2 separate regions of the Homo sapiens genome follow, and region 1 is linked to region 2. The links are contacts of gene promoters, found by promoter capture Hi-C in human tissues and cell types (Jung and others, 2019). All regions are on one chromosome and are shown on one strand. Each heading gives the region's core, a stretch centred on a gene start or on the middle of the fragment in contact. The rest is flanking DNA. Distances are from core to core; before and after follow the strand shown.

What was found. The method cuts DNA at HindIII sites, captures the fragments that hold promoters and counts their contacts. A contact is called where the count stands out against the background at its distance.
Region 1: the fragment with the promoter of EXOSC5 here is called in contact with the fragment with the promoter of MIA in region 2 in 1 of the 25 tissues and cell types used here (spleen).

The regions. Positions count from the first base shown.
Region 1 is chr19:41,395,577-41,401,730 of GRCh38, reverse strand. EXOSC5 (exosome component 5) reads left to right here and starts at 4,372. Exons shown (of 6, transcript NM_020158.4): 1 at 4,372-4,550. The coding sequence starts at 4,403. BCKDHA (branched chain keto acid dehydrogenase E1 subunit alpha) reads right to left here and starts at 3,913. Exons shown (of 9, transcript NM_000709.4): 1 at 3,796-3,913. The coding sequence starts at 3,903. RefSeq lists enhancers at 3,058-3,729, 3,885-4,164, 3,730-4,402 and a silencer at 4,161-4,449. The HindIII fragment of the contact is 15,471 bases long and covers 1-6,154 here.
Region 2 is chr19:40,770,018-40,776,795 of GRCh38, reverse strand. It overlaps MIA (MIA SH3 domain containing), which reads right to left and starts at 1,275. Exons shown (of 4, transcript NM_006533.4): 1 at 1,127-1,275; 2 at 911-1,044. The coding sequence starts at 1,253. It overlaps MIA-RAB4B (MIA-RAB4B readthrough (NMD candidate)), which reads right to left and starts at 1,259. Exons shown (of 10, transcript NR_037775.1): 1 at 1,127-1,259; 2 at 911-1,044. The HindIII fragment of the contact is 14,863 bases long and covers 1-6,778 here.

The sequences.
Region 1 (6,154 bases), core at 3,123-5,622, 620 kb before region 2:
AATGACTTAGCCAAGCCCAGGCCTGGGGTAGTGGCTGAGAAACTGACTCACAATTCCTTGACAATCTGAGTTTCCTTCCTCCTCCTTTCCCTGAGCACTAAAACGTCTGCTATGATAACAGAGACAGGAAGGGAGGTGAAAATCAGGCAAACACATCTGCAGGGCAGCAGGGTATTCAATGAAGGAGTGGGCAGAGCAGGGGCAAGAAGTCGGGGACAAGTAAAGCAGCCCCACTCCTCCTTCTAATCCAATCTTCCCCAGTGAACCCAGTAATCCAATCTGTCTACAATATGCAGCCTCTCAACCTTTCCCTGACTATTTCTTCATCTCCACCTGGATAAAACTGCATCATCTTAGCCAGGCATGGTGGCTCACACCTGTAATCCCAGCACTCTGGGAGGCCGAGGTGGGTGGGTCGCCTGAGGTCGGGAGTTCAAGACCAGCCTGATCAACATGGAGAAACCCTGTCTCTACTAAAAATACAAAATTAGCCAGGCATGGTGGTGCATGCCTGTAATCCCAGCTACTCGGGAGGCTGAGGCAGGAGAATCGCTTGAACCCAGGAAGAGGAGGTTGTGGTGAGCCAAGATCATGCCATTGCACTCCAGCCTAGGCAATGAGAGCAAAACTCCACCTCGAAAAAACAAAAAACAAAACAAAACAAAAACCCTGCACCATCTAATGTGGCAGCCACCAACCACTTGTGGCTATCTTATTTTGAGACAGAGGGCTGCTCTGTCACCTAGGCTGGGGTATAGTGGTGCGATCTCGGCTCACTGCAATCTCCGCCTCCCAGGTTCAAGCGATTCTTCTGCCTCAGCCTCCCAAGTAGCTGGGACTACAGGCACACGCCATTACGCCCAGCTAATTTTTTTGTATTTTTAGTAGAGATGGGGTTTCACCATGTTGGCCAGGCTGGTCTTGAACTCCTGGCCTCAGGCAACCCGCCCACCTTGGCCTCTCAAAATGCTGGGATTACAGGCATGAGCCACCGCACCCAGCCCACTTGTGGCTACTTAAACTTAAACTCATGATAATTTAATAATATGGCCAGGCAAGGTGGCTCACGCTTGTCATCCTGCACTTTGGGAGGCTGAGGCAGGAAGATCGCTTGAGTCCAGGAGTTCAAGACCAGCCTGGAAAACATGGCAAAACCCCATCTCTACAAAGATTTAAAAATTAGCCAGGCGCAGCCAGGCACAGTGGCTTATGCCTGTAATCCCAGCACTTTGGGAGGCCGAGGCGGGCAGATCACCTTAGATCAGGAGTTCAAGACCAGCCTGGTCAACATGGTGAAACCCCATCTCTACTAAAAATACAAAAATTAACTGGGTATGGTGGCGCACGCCAGTAGTCCCAGCTATTTGGGAGGCTGAGGCAGGAGAATCACTTGAACCTGGGAAGTGGAGGTTGCAGTGAGCCGAGATCGTGCCACTGCACTCCAGCTTGGGTGACAGAGCAAGACTCCGTCTCAAAAAAAAAAAAAAAAATTAAAAATTAGCCAGGCGTAGTAGCACGTGCCTGTGGTCCCAGCTACTTAGGAGGTGGAGGTGGGGGGATTGCTTGAGCCCAGGAGGTTGAGGCTGCAGTGAGCCATGATCACACCACTGCACTCACTCCAGCCTGGGTGACAGAGTGAGACCTTGTCTCAAAAAAAGAAAAGGCTAGGCGCAGTGGCTCATGCTTTTGGAGGCCAAGACAGGCGGAACTTGAGGCCAGAAGTTCGAGACCAGCCTGGACAACATGGTGAAACCTCGTCCCTACCAAAAATACAAAAATTAGCCAGGCGTGATAGTGCATGCCTGTAATCCCAGCTACTAGGGAGGCTGAGGCAGGAGAATTGCTTGAACTCGGCAGGCAGAGATTGCAGTAAGTCAAGATCATGCTGCTGCACTCCAGCCTAGGCGAGAGAGTGAAACTCTGTCTCAAAAAAGAAAAAAAAAGAAAAAGGAAAGAGAGGTACAGAAAGAAAGAGAGAGAGAAAAGAGAAGAGAAAAGGAAAGGAAAGGAAAGGGAAAAAGAAAAGAAAAGAAAAAGGAGAGGGGAGGAGAGGAGAGGAGAAGGAGAGGAAAGAAAGAAGAAGAGAGAAAGAACAGGTGGGAGAAATAAAGGGGAAAAAACAATAACTCTTAAGATAATACAAATTTAAATATATATAAATAAAAAGTAGGGACTTCTTCCCTCCCCACTCCCCACCAAAAATGAAGTAGGGGAAGCAAGAGGAAAGGTAATCAAGAGATTGAGACAGGAGAGAAAGATTTAATCAGCCATAAATGACCTTTCCCTAGCCTGCCCCAGTCCTGCCCACCTCCTGCCCCACTTGCCCAGCCAATGGGCCCCTGGGACTGAGATCAGCTGTGGAGGATATGAACTGCTCAAAAAAAAAAAAAAAAAAAAAAGTGAAAAGGTCTCCAGCCCAAAGGCAAGAGACTGCCCTACCCACACCTTGCTCCTGCAGCCCTTCTGTATTTACCTGTTTCAAGTGACTCCGTTCCTAGATACCTACTACGTCCTACTCCTGGCCCATCTTCTTCACCCTCCTCCCGTTTGTTCCCCTACCCAGAGCTTCTTTCTACAGATTCCATCTTCCCCTCCTTATGGATTGGGGATCAGAGGATCAGACTCAACCTCACAATATCTTTTCAGATTTTTTTCCCCAGGGCCTCACCAATCCAGGCCTTCCCAAGGTCACCCCTTTCTTCTCCCCATCTCCAAGGTTAGTTTCTGTCCCTTCCCTCCACCCTCACTATCAACATTCCTATTGCCCTTAGGATGTGCCAGGTCCAGTCCTTAGCATTTTACATATTGATTTTTCACAGCCCTATGAGGTGGCCACTGTTAATATTTTAGAGAGGAAAATTAGCTCCATAGATCCAGAGAAGTGCAGTCCGTTGGCCAAGGCTACACAAGTGGAAAGCGGCAGAGCAAGGACATGCATCCACCCATGTAACCACTACTCTCCTATCTGTCAACTGTAGTTCAAAGCTCTTCTGCAACCCATTGCCTCTCCCCGTCTAAAGATAGGCTTCCACCTAGGTTTTTTGCAGTGTAATCTTGCCCTTAGCAGCATCCACCTGAAGGGATTGTGACCCTTTTGACAAGAAACAAAGCCTTCTCAAGTGTTTCTAAGAAATGTGGGCAAAGTGCCCTGTCTGTACCTCTCTCCCTCCTTTTTTCCCCTCATTAATTCAACAAATATTAATCGTCTCCTCTGTACAGTGTCCAGAACACACGAATTCTCTGTCTTGATATTCGATCAAGAGACACAGGAATCAAACAAATTTTTTACACAATTCATTTTAAAATCAGAATTGTGGCAAAGGAGCAAAGAAATACAAGGCCCTATGCAGCCTGTGACAGGGACCTGTTCTCTTCTTTCTTCTTCTTGAAGAGGGATCTTTGCCCAGAAGAAAGTCCCTCCCTTACAAAGTCAGTTTCATTCTCCAAACCCTGAGGGAGAAGGTCTTGCGGTCTTCCCCTGTTCCTCCAAGGAGCCTCCCCTGAATACCAGTGGCAGCTAATAAGGAACCCCCATCTCTCTCTTCAAGTCGTCTCCCTCAGGGCCCACAAAGAAGTTGCAAACGGGTTTTTTCCTCTCCTAAAGAAGTGGAAGTTCTTTTCGTCTCCTAAGGAAGTGGCAGATCTTCCCTTCGGTGTCTTCTCCAAGGAGTCTCCCACTCTTTTTCCCTTTTGTGACAGCCCTTCCTTCATATCCTTCAGGGACCCCACACTCTGAAGATAGCCTTTACATCCCTAATCCCCTTTGGGAAAACCGCCTGGGGCCCAGGTACTCACAGATCTAGCCAGTCCCCGAGCCCCAGGCTGCCGCAGCAGCAGGAGGGCAGCCTGGCTCAAACCACGGTTTAGCCGCCAGACCCTCGCTGCAGCGATCGCTACCGCCATCTTGGCTAACAACCACTCAGCGGTCCGGCACTCACGTAGGCTAGATTCGGGGCTGCCTCTTTATGTGCCTGACGCAAACTCCAGCACCATCTGACAAGAAAACCATCTTCTTCCCGTTCTGTGGTAGATAGAATGCACAGAGATTTGGAGAAAAAAAAATCTATCTACCCAAAATTTTCTCCAATCGCCTCATTGTAGTTACTCCTGTAACAGGCAAAGAAGAGGGCAACCTGACCAGGGCCTCAGGGATTTAGGGCCCGGGGGCCCAGAGTAAAGCGGATCAATGCCAAGGCCTGCCTTCTGTTCCCAAATGTCCAATGGCGTTGCCAGAGTTAGGAGGTGGGACTGGGCGGAGCCAGATTGTTGGTAAACGCTAAGCCACGTGCGGACGCCCAGGAGGATGGCCCAGCCCGGCGCGTGCGCACTGGTTACGCAGCCTGTTTGCGGCGCGCGCTGCCAGGCGGAAGTGACAACTGCAGCCGCACGTGGGCTCGGCGCGATGGAGGAGGAGACGCATACTGACGCCAAAATCCGTGCTGAAAATGGAACAGGGTCCAGCCCTCGGGGTCCTGGCTGCAGCCTCCGGCACTTTGCCTGCGAACAGAACCTGCTGTCGCGGCCAGATGGCTCTGCTTCCTTCCTGCAAGGTAAGAACTTCACCCAGGTCTTTCTTTTGGAGAGGGACTACCGTGTACTGTGCAACCGAGTGCCCACCTCCTCACGATACCAGCTGGTAAATGTCACTCCTGCGTTGATGCATGATTTCTTGTCCGATTGAATACTACTAAATACGCAGGGATACACACATCTCTCCCTCACGACTAGAAAGGAGAAGATAGTTCCATCTTTGTAACTATCTCTGAGAATGAGAGGAGGGGCAGACTGTCCGCCCAAGAATTGATATTTCAGAATAGGGAAAATCACCTCGCCAGGGTAAATATCCCCCTTAACTCGATTCCTCCTCCACCCTCCCACCCCCACCCCCCACACACACACCCTCTAGGTCCTTGCATCCCGGACTGAAGCAAACCTGTCTATTTGCATACTGTGGACTGTGGCGGATCTTTCACCCACGTAAATACTCCTCAAATTGAAGATAATGTCATTGCGCTGGGTTGAGAAATACATCCCCACCGCTACCTCACTGCATCTCTCCACACAAGTAAATATCCCTAAGATTAGGGCAAGTCAAAAAAAAAAAAAAAAAAAAGATTAGGGCAAGTCTTACCTATAGAGCAAATATCCCCTTTTCCTAGCTAAATAACTCTCAGAAGTAGATTAACTCCAAGAATATTTCTCTTTAACGTTTGAGACGGGAGGCCGGGGGCGGTGGCTCACGCCTGTAATCCCCACACTTTGGGAGGCCAAGACCTGTGGCTCACCTGAGGTCAGGAGTTCGAGACCAGCCTGGCCAACATGGCGAAACCCTGTCTCTACTAAAAATACAAAAACTAGCCAGGCATGGTGGCGGGCGCCTGTAATCCCAGCTACTCGGGAGGCTGAGGCAGGACAATCACTTGAACCTGGGAGGCAGAAGTTGCAGTGGGCCGAGATCGTGCCATTGTACTCCAGCGTGAGCGACAAAGCAAGACTCTGTCTCAAAAAAAAAAAAAATTGAGACAGCGTCTCACGATGTCACCCAGGTTGGTCTTGAACTCCTGGGCTCAAGCAATCCTCCTCCCAAAGTGCTCATACAGGTATGAGCCACCACGCCCAGCCCCAATACATTTTAACAAAATTTGGCTGCTGTGTTGATTGTGGGGAGTATGGGGGAAAACAGGGAGGTGATGGTGGCTCCAGCCAGAGCAGGAGTAGTGGAGGTGATGAGATTCTGGATGTAGTTTGAAAGTAATACGGACAAAACTTACGTATAGTTTGGTTTGAGTGCGAGGAAAAAGATTCAGGCATAACTAAGGTTTCTGCCCAGATCTGTACAAGTCTGGAAATCAGAAGAGAGACCCAAGCTGGACATAGGCAATTTGGAACTCTCTGGCTATATAGATGGTATTTCAGGCTATTGCCTGAACGAAGTGAGTGTAGATGGAAAAGAGAAGAGGTCCCAGGACCAAGCCCTAGGCCTTCCAACTTGAGCAGTCAGAGACATGTGACAAGCTAGCAAAGGAGACTCAGAAGGAACGCCCAGAGAGTTAGGGGGAAACCAGGAGATGGTGGTGACCTGGGGCCAAGAAAAGAGCATGTCTGAGATGTGAGGGCTGACCAGCTGTTTCAGCCTTACTGACAGCCGGGTCAT
Region 2 (6,778 bases), core at 26-2,525:
CTCTGTTAATTCTCACAGCAGCGCATATTTGCTTTTATTATTATTATTATTTTGGAAACAGGGTCTCATTGTGTCGCCCAGGTTGAGGTGCAGTAGCATGATCACGGCTCACTGCAGCCTCAACTTCTGGGATCAAGCAATCCTCCCACCTCAGCCTCCCGAGTAGCCGGGACCACAGACACATGCCATGAAGCCCAGTTAATTTTAAATTTTTTTTTATAGAGATGGGGGTCTTGCTATGTTGCCCAGGCTGGTCTCGAACTCCTGGGCTCAAGCTATCCTCCCAACTTGGCCTTACTTGGGATTACAGGTGTGAGCTACTGTGCCCGGCTGCTGCTATTTTTTATGCCTTGCTTTTTGTTCATTTCCCTCCATTAGAATAAAAAGGATCATTTGTTGTTGTATCTTGGTGTCTAGAACAGAACGTGGGACCATATCAGGTCCTAAAATTGGTAAATAAAGTGAAAATAGGCTGGGGGGCAGTGGCTCACACCTGTAATCCCAGCACTCCGGGAGGCCAAGGCGGGCAGATCATGAGGTCAGGAGTTCAAGACCAGCCTGGCCAATATGGTAAAACCCTGTCTCTACTAAAAATACAAAAATTAGCCAGGTGTGGTGGTGCATGCCTGTAATCCCAGGTACTTGGGAGGCTGAGGCAGGAGAATCGCTTAAACCCAAGAGGTGGAGGTTACAGTGAGCCGAGATCGTGCCATTGCACTCCAGCCTGGGTGACAGAGCAAGACTCTGTCTCGGAAAAAATTAAAAAATAATAAGCAAATAAAATAAAGTAAGTAACAATATCCCCCCACAATGTCTATTTCAGTTCACCCCCCTCAAATCTTCCCTTCATGGGGATAATGAGTCTACCCCAGCTCTGTACCCTTCCCTCTTTCACTCTCCCAAGACTCACGCTGCCTCCCCAGAAGAGCCGCCCACGGCCCTTCAGCTTGGAGAAGACATACACCACTTGGCCCCGGTGAATGGTCAGGAATCGGCAGTCGGGGGCCATGTAGTCCTGAAGGGCCACAGCCATGGAGATAGGGTCTAGGGAAGGAATAGAAGGGAATGCAGCACCCTCCACACAGGCTAACGCCCAAGCCCCCAATTCTCCCCTCCCCATTCTTACGGCTGCACTCCTGGTCCGCACACAGCTTCCGGTCAGCCAGCTTGGGCATAGGACCACCCCTGACACCAGGTCCGGAGAAGGCAGACAGCAAGATGATGACACCAAGGCACACCAGGGACCGGGCCATCGTGGACTGTGAGCAAGAGAGTGAGCAAGGGGGTGCTGGGGTCTCCAATTTCCTCCCCTCCCTCTCTCCCGTAGTACAAGGAAACTTGTGTTCTTGGTCTTGTCCCCGCCCTAAACCAGTCCCAAACTTCGCCCACACCACCTAGAAGTTGCTATGAAACCAGAACCATTTCAAGGATAGGGTAAAGGCTGTAAGCCCAAGGAAATTCCCAGATAAGGTCCAAAGCAGCTCACAACTTTCCCAGTGACAGCCCCCTCCTCAACAATCACAGAGGCCTAGATAAGGTGGTTGAAATATTCAATTCCATCTTCTCTTGAGTTGGCTTAGGTACCTGGGCTCCTCCGCTGTCCCCTCTGGCCACAGAAGCGGAGGAGCCTGTAAAGAAAACCACCTTGGAATTTCCTGTGCTGTGGGGCAGGAGAACAAGGCAGCCCTTTGATTACCAGAAACAGCCCAGCCCTTGAGTACTGACTGAATATTGTATGCTGAACCTTAGGCTAGGCAAAGTCCCACCATGATCACTATTCCTCTGCACCAGACGCTTCCCACTGGATGACCTGGGCTAAGCTATTTCTCCTCACAAAGCCTCAGCTTCCTTATATGTAAAATGGGAACAATAAAAAAGCCAATAGTTACAGAGCATTCACCAAGTACATATTTATGTTATGAACTCAAATGGATACTCTGTATCATGTCAGGAGGAGTGATTATAACCCCTCCCTTTTTTTTCTTTTTTGAGACAGGGTCTCACCCTGTTGCCCAGGTGGAGTGCAATGGTGCCATCCCGGCTCACTGCAGCCTCAACCTCCTAGACTCAGGCAATCCTCCCACCTCAGCCTCCTGAGTAACTGGGACTACAGGCACAAGCCACCTATGCCCAATTAATCCATTTTTTTAAATAATTATTTTGAGGTAGAGTCTTGCTCTGTTGCCCAGGTTGGAGTGCACTGGCATGATCCTGGTTCACTGTAGCCCCTATTTCCTGGGCTCAAGCATTCCTCCCACCTCAGCCTACCGAGTAGCTGGGACCACAGACATGTACCATTATGCCCAGTTAATTTTTTGTATTTTTTGGTAGAGCCGGGGTTTCGTCATGTTGCCCAGCCTCGTCTCAAACTCCTGGGCTCAAGCAATCTGCCCACCATGGCCTTCCAAAGTGCTGGGATTACAGGCATGAGCCACCAAGCCCAGCCTAATTTAATTTTTTGAGACAGGATCTTGCTGTTGCTCAGGCTGAAGTACAGTGATGTGATCATAGCTCACTGCATCCTCAAACTCCTGGGCTCAAGAAATCCTCCCCTCTCAGCCTCTCGAGTAGAATAGTAGGCAAGTCACCATTCTTGGATGATTTCTTTTATTTTTATTTTTCTAGAGCCAATGTCTTACTGTGCTGCCTGGGCTGGTCTTGAACTCTTGTCCCCAAGTATCCTCCCGCCTTGGCCTCCCAAAGCACTGGGATTACAGGCATGAGCCACCAATGCCTGGCCTATAACCCCTTGTTACATGGAAATGGAAGTGTGGAGTTAAGGAACTTGTCTAAGGCTTACAGAGCCAGGAAGTGGAGAAGTGGAGAGGCTAAGACTTGTATCCAGGCCCACAGCCATTGCTATGCTATCTTTTTTTTTTTTTCTTTTTTTTCTTTGAGATGGAGTCTCATATTGCAGTGGTACAATCTCAGCTCACTGCAACCTCCACCTCCCGAGTTCAAGCAATTCTCCTGCCTCAGCCTCCCGAGTAGCTGGGATTACAGGCATGTGCCACCATGCCCGGCTATTTTTGTATTTTTAGTAGAGACAGGGTTTGTCCATGTTGGCCAGGCTGGTCTCGAACTCCCCACCTCAGGTGATCCACCCGCCTCGGCGTTCCAAAGTGCTGGGATTATAGGAGTGAGTCACCGCGTCTGGCCTGAAAGATTTTTTTTTTTTTACAGGCAGGGTCTCACTCTGTCACCCAGACTAGAGTGCAGTGCCACAATCACAGCTCACTCAGCCTTGAACAACTGGGCTCAAGCTATTCTCCCACCGCAGCCTCCTAAGTAGCTGTGACTATAAGTGTGAGCCACTGCACCTGGCTTTGAAATGCAATTTCTTTTTTTTTTTTTTTTTTTTTGAGACATTGTTTCGCTCTTGTCACCCAAGCTGGAGTGCAATGGCACGATCTTAGCTCACTGTGACCTCCCCCTCCCGGGTTCAAGTGATTCTCCTGCCTCAGCCTCCCAAGTAGCGGGGATTACAGGCATCTGCCACCATGCCCAGCTAATTTTGTATTTTTAGTAGAGATGGGGTTTCACCATGTTGGTCAGGCTGGTGTCAAACTCCTGACCTCAAGTGACCCACCCACCTTGGCCTCCAAAAGTGTGGGGATTACAGGTGTGAGCCACCGCACCCGGCCCCACTTTAAAACACTCTTTAAAAAATTATTTCTTCATTCAGGCCAGACATGGTGGCTCACTCTTGTAATCCCAGCACTTTGGGAGGCTGAGGCAGGCGGATCACTTGAGGTCAGGAGTTTTGAGACCAGCCTGGCCAACGTGGTGAAAATACAAAAATTAGACAGGCATGGTGGCACACACCTGTAGTCCCAGCTACTTGGGAGGCCGAACCAGAATCACTTGAAACTGGGAGGTGGAGGCTGCAGTGAGCCAAGATCACGCCACTGCACTCCAGCCTGAACGAGAGAGTGAGACCCTGTCTCAAAAAAAAAAAAAAAAAAATCCGCCGGATGCAGTGGCTCACACCTGTAATCCCAGCACTTTGGGAGGCTGAGGTGGGTGGATCACCTGAGGTCAGGAGTTCAAGACCAGCCTGGCCAATATGGTGAAACCCTGTCACTACTGAAAAATACAAAAATGAGCCAGGCATGGTGGCGCATGCCTGTAGTCCCAGCTACTCAGGAGGCTGAGGCAGAAGAATTGCTTGAACCTGGGAGGTGGAGGTTGCAATGAGCCAAGATCATGCCACTGCACTCCAGCCTGGGTGACAGAGTGAGACTCTGTCTCAAAAAAAAAAAAAATCATTTCTTCATTCATTGAAGATTTCATGAGTACATAAAGTATCCTAGGACTTAATCCAGACCCTGGAGATTCATCAAGGAATGAAAATTAAAGGGGAGATAATCAATGAACAAAGTTCAGATATATGATAGTGTGTGAAGTATTAAGGATACTCAGAAAGAACACTCAAGAATCAGCTGTGGGAACCGTGCCCCCTGCCCCATATTACTGATGAAGCCACAAAGAAATAGAAGTGACTTCAATTCCCAAAGCACAGTGCATGTATCTCCTGCTGCATAATTAGCCTAAGACCAACATTGCCCCAGTGCAGTGGCTCATGCCTGTAATCCCAACACTTTGGGAGGCTGAGACAGGAGGATTGCTAGAGCCTAAGAATTTGAGACCAGCCTAAGTAACACAGGGAGACCCTTGTACCTACAAAAAGAAGAAAAAAAGAGAAAAACTAGCTGTGCATGGTGGTACAAACCTGTAGTCCCAGCCACTCAGGAGGTTGAGGTGGGAGGACCACTTGAACCCAGGATGTAGAGGCCGCAGTGAGCCATGATCGTGCCACTGCACTCTAGAGCAAGAACCTGTTTAGAAAAAAAAAGACCAAAATTATCACCTTTTCTGTGGGTCGAATGTCTCAGGCTTAAGGTCTGCTATAAGGCTGCAATCAGCCTGTCAGCCAGGGGTGCAGTTTCATCTGAAGGCTGAATGGTGGGAGGACTGCTTCCAAACTCATTCAGGCAGCTGTTGGGGAGATGCAGTTGCTTGTGGGAACTGGACTGAGGGCCTCTGTCCTCAGTTTTCTTGACACGTGGACCTCTACAGACAGCTTGAGAGGTGAAGATGGCTGGGCCTCTGGGCCGGTGAGGACTTGGAGAACTTTTCTGTCTACCTAAAGGATTGTAAATGCACCAATCAGCACTCTGTGTCTAGCTAAAGGTTTGTAAACACACCAATCAGTGCTCTGTGTCTAGCTAATCAGGTAGGGGACTTGGAGAACTTTTCTGTCTAGCTAAAGGATTGTAAATGCACCAATCAGCGCTCTGTGTCTAGCTAAAGGATTGTAAGCACGCCAATCAGCGCTCTGTGTCTAGGTAAAGATTTGTAAACGCACCAATCAGCTCTCTGTAAAAACGGACCAATCAGACTCTGTAAAACAGACCAATCAGCACTCTGTAAAATGGACCAATCAGCTATCTGTAAAATGGATCAATCAGCAGGATGTGGGTGGGACCAAATAAGGAAATAAAAGCAGGCCACCCTAGCCAGCAGCTGCAACTGGCTCAGGGCGCCTTCCATGCTGTGGAAGCCTTGTTCTTTTGCTCTTTGCAATAAATTTTGCTGTTGCACATTCTATAGGTCCACATTATCTTTATGAGCTGTAACACTCACCGCGAAGGTCTGTGGCTTCACTCCTGAACTCAGCATAGACTACAAACCCACCAGAAGGAAGAAATTCCAGATACATCTGAACATCTGAAGGAACAAACTCCAGGCACACCATCTTTAAGAACTGTGACACTCACTGCGAGGGTGCATGGCTTCATTCTTGAAGTCAGCGACGCCAAGAACCCACCAGAAGGAACCAATTCCAGACACAAGCTCACAACGTGGCAGCTGGATTTCCCAACAGCAAGACAGAGGCCAGTCTTTGTACCCACCCTTTGTACTCTTCCTCCATATTGCAGCCACAGGAGCAGGGCCACTGAGAAGCACAATTTTTTTTTTTAATTTTTTAAAATTTTGAGACAGAATCTCACTCTGTCGCCCAGGCTGGAGTGCAGTGGCATGATCTCGGCTTACTGCAACCTCCGCCTCCCGGGTTCAAGCAATTCTGCTTCAGCCTCCAAGTAGCTGAGACTACAGGCACGTGCCACCATGCCTGGCTAATTTTTGTATATTTAGTAGCGACGGGTTTCACCATATTCACCACGCTGGTGTCGATCTCCTGACCTCAAGTGATCTGCCCACCTCAGCCTCCCAAAGTGCTGGGATTACAGAGGTGAGCCACCGTGCCCGGCCTCTTTTTTTTCATCTCTCACCTCCAAAGTGTGCTTCGGAGATCCACAGGCTAAGCGTCCTTCTCCAGAGGGTCCACGTTGCTCCCAGGGACCCTCACCTCTAGACTGGCAAGTCCAAGCTTTTTTTAGAAGAGGATGGACACACACAGGCTTGGGGCCAGGGAAGAGTTTGTCAGGGATGAAGACTAGGTCTGTGCCATGTCTACAAACCCAACACCAAGCACCATGAGCTCAGCTCAAATGCACCTTCTCAGAAGGGTTTTCTGGACCACTCATTACTGTTCCCAACCCCATCACCCGCTTCACATCAGGATTTTTTTTTTTTTTTTGGAGTCTTGCTCTGTCACCCAGGCTGGAGTGTGCAGTGCCACTGCACCTCCATCTCACTGCAACCTCCACCTCCAGGTTCAAGTGATTCTCCTGCCTCAGCCTCCCAAGTAGCTAGGATTACAAGCATGCACCACCACGTCTAACTAATTTTGTTGTTGTTGTTGTTGTTTTGT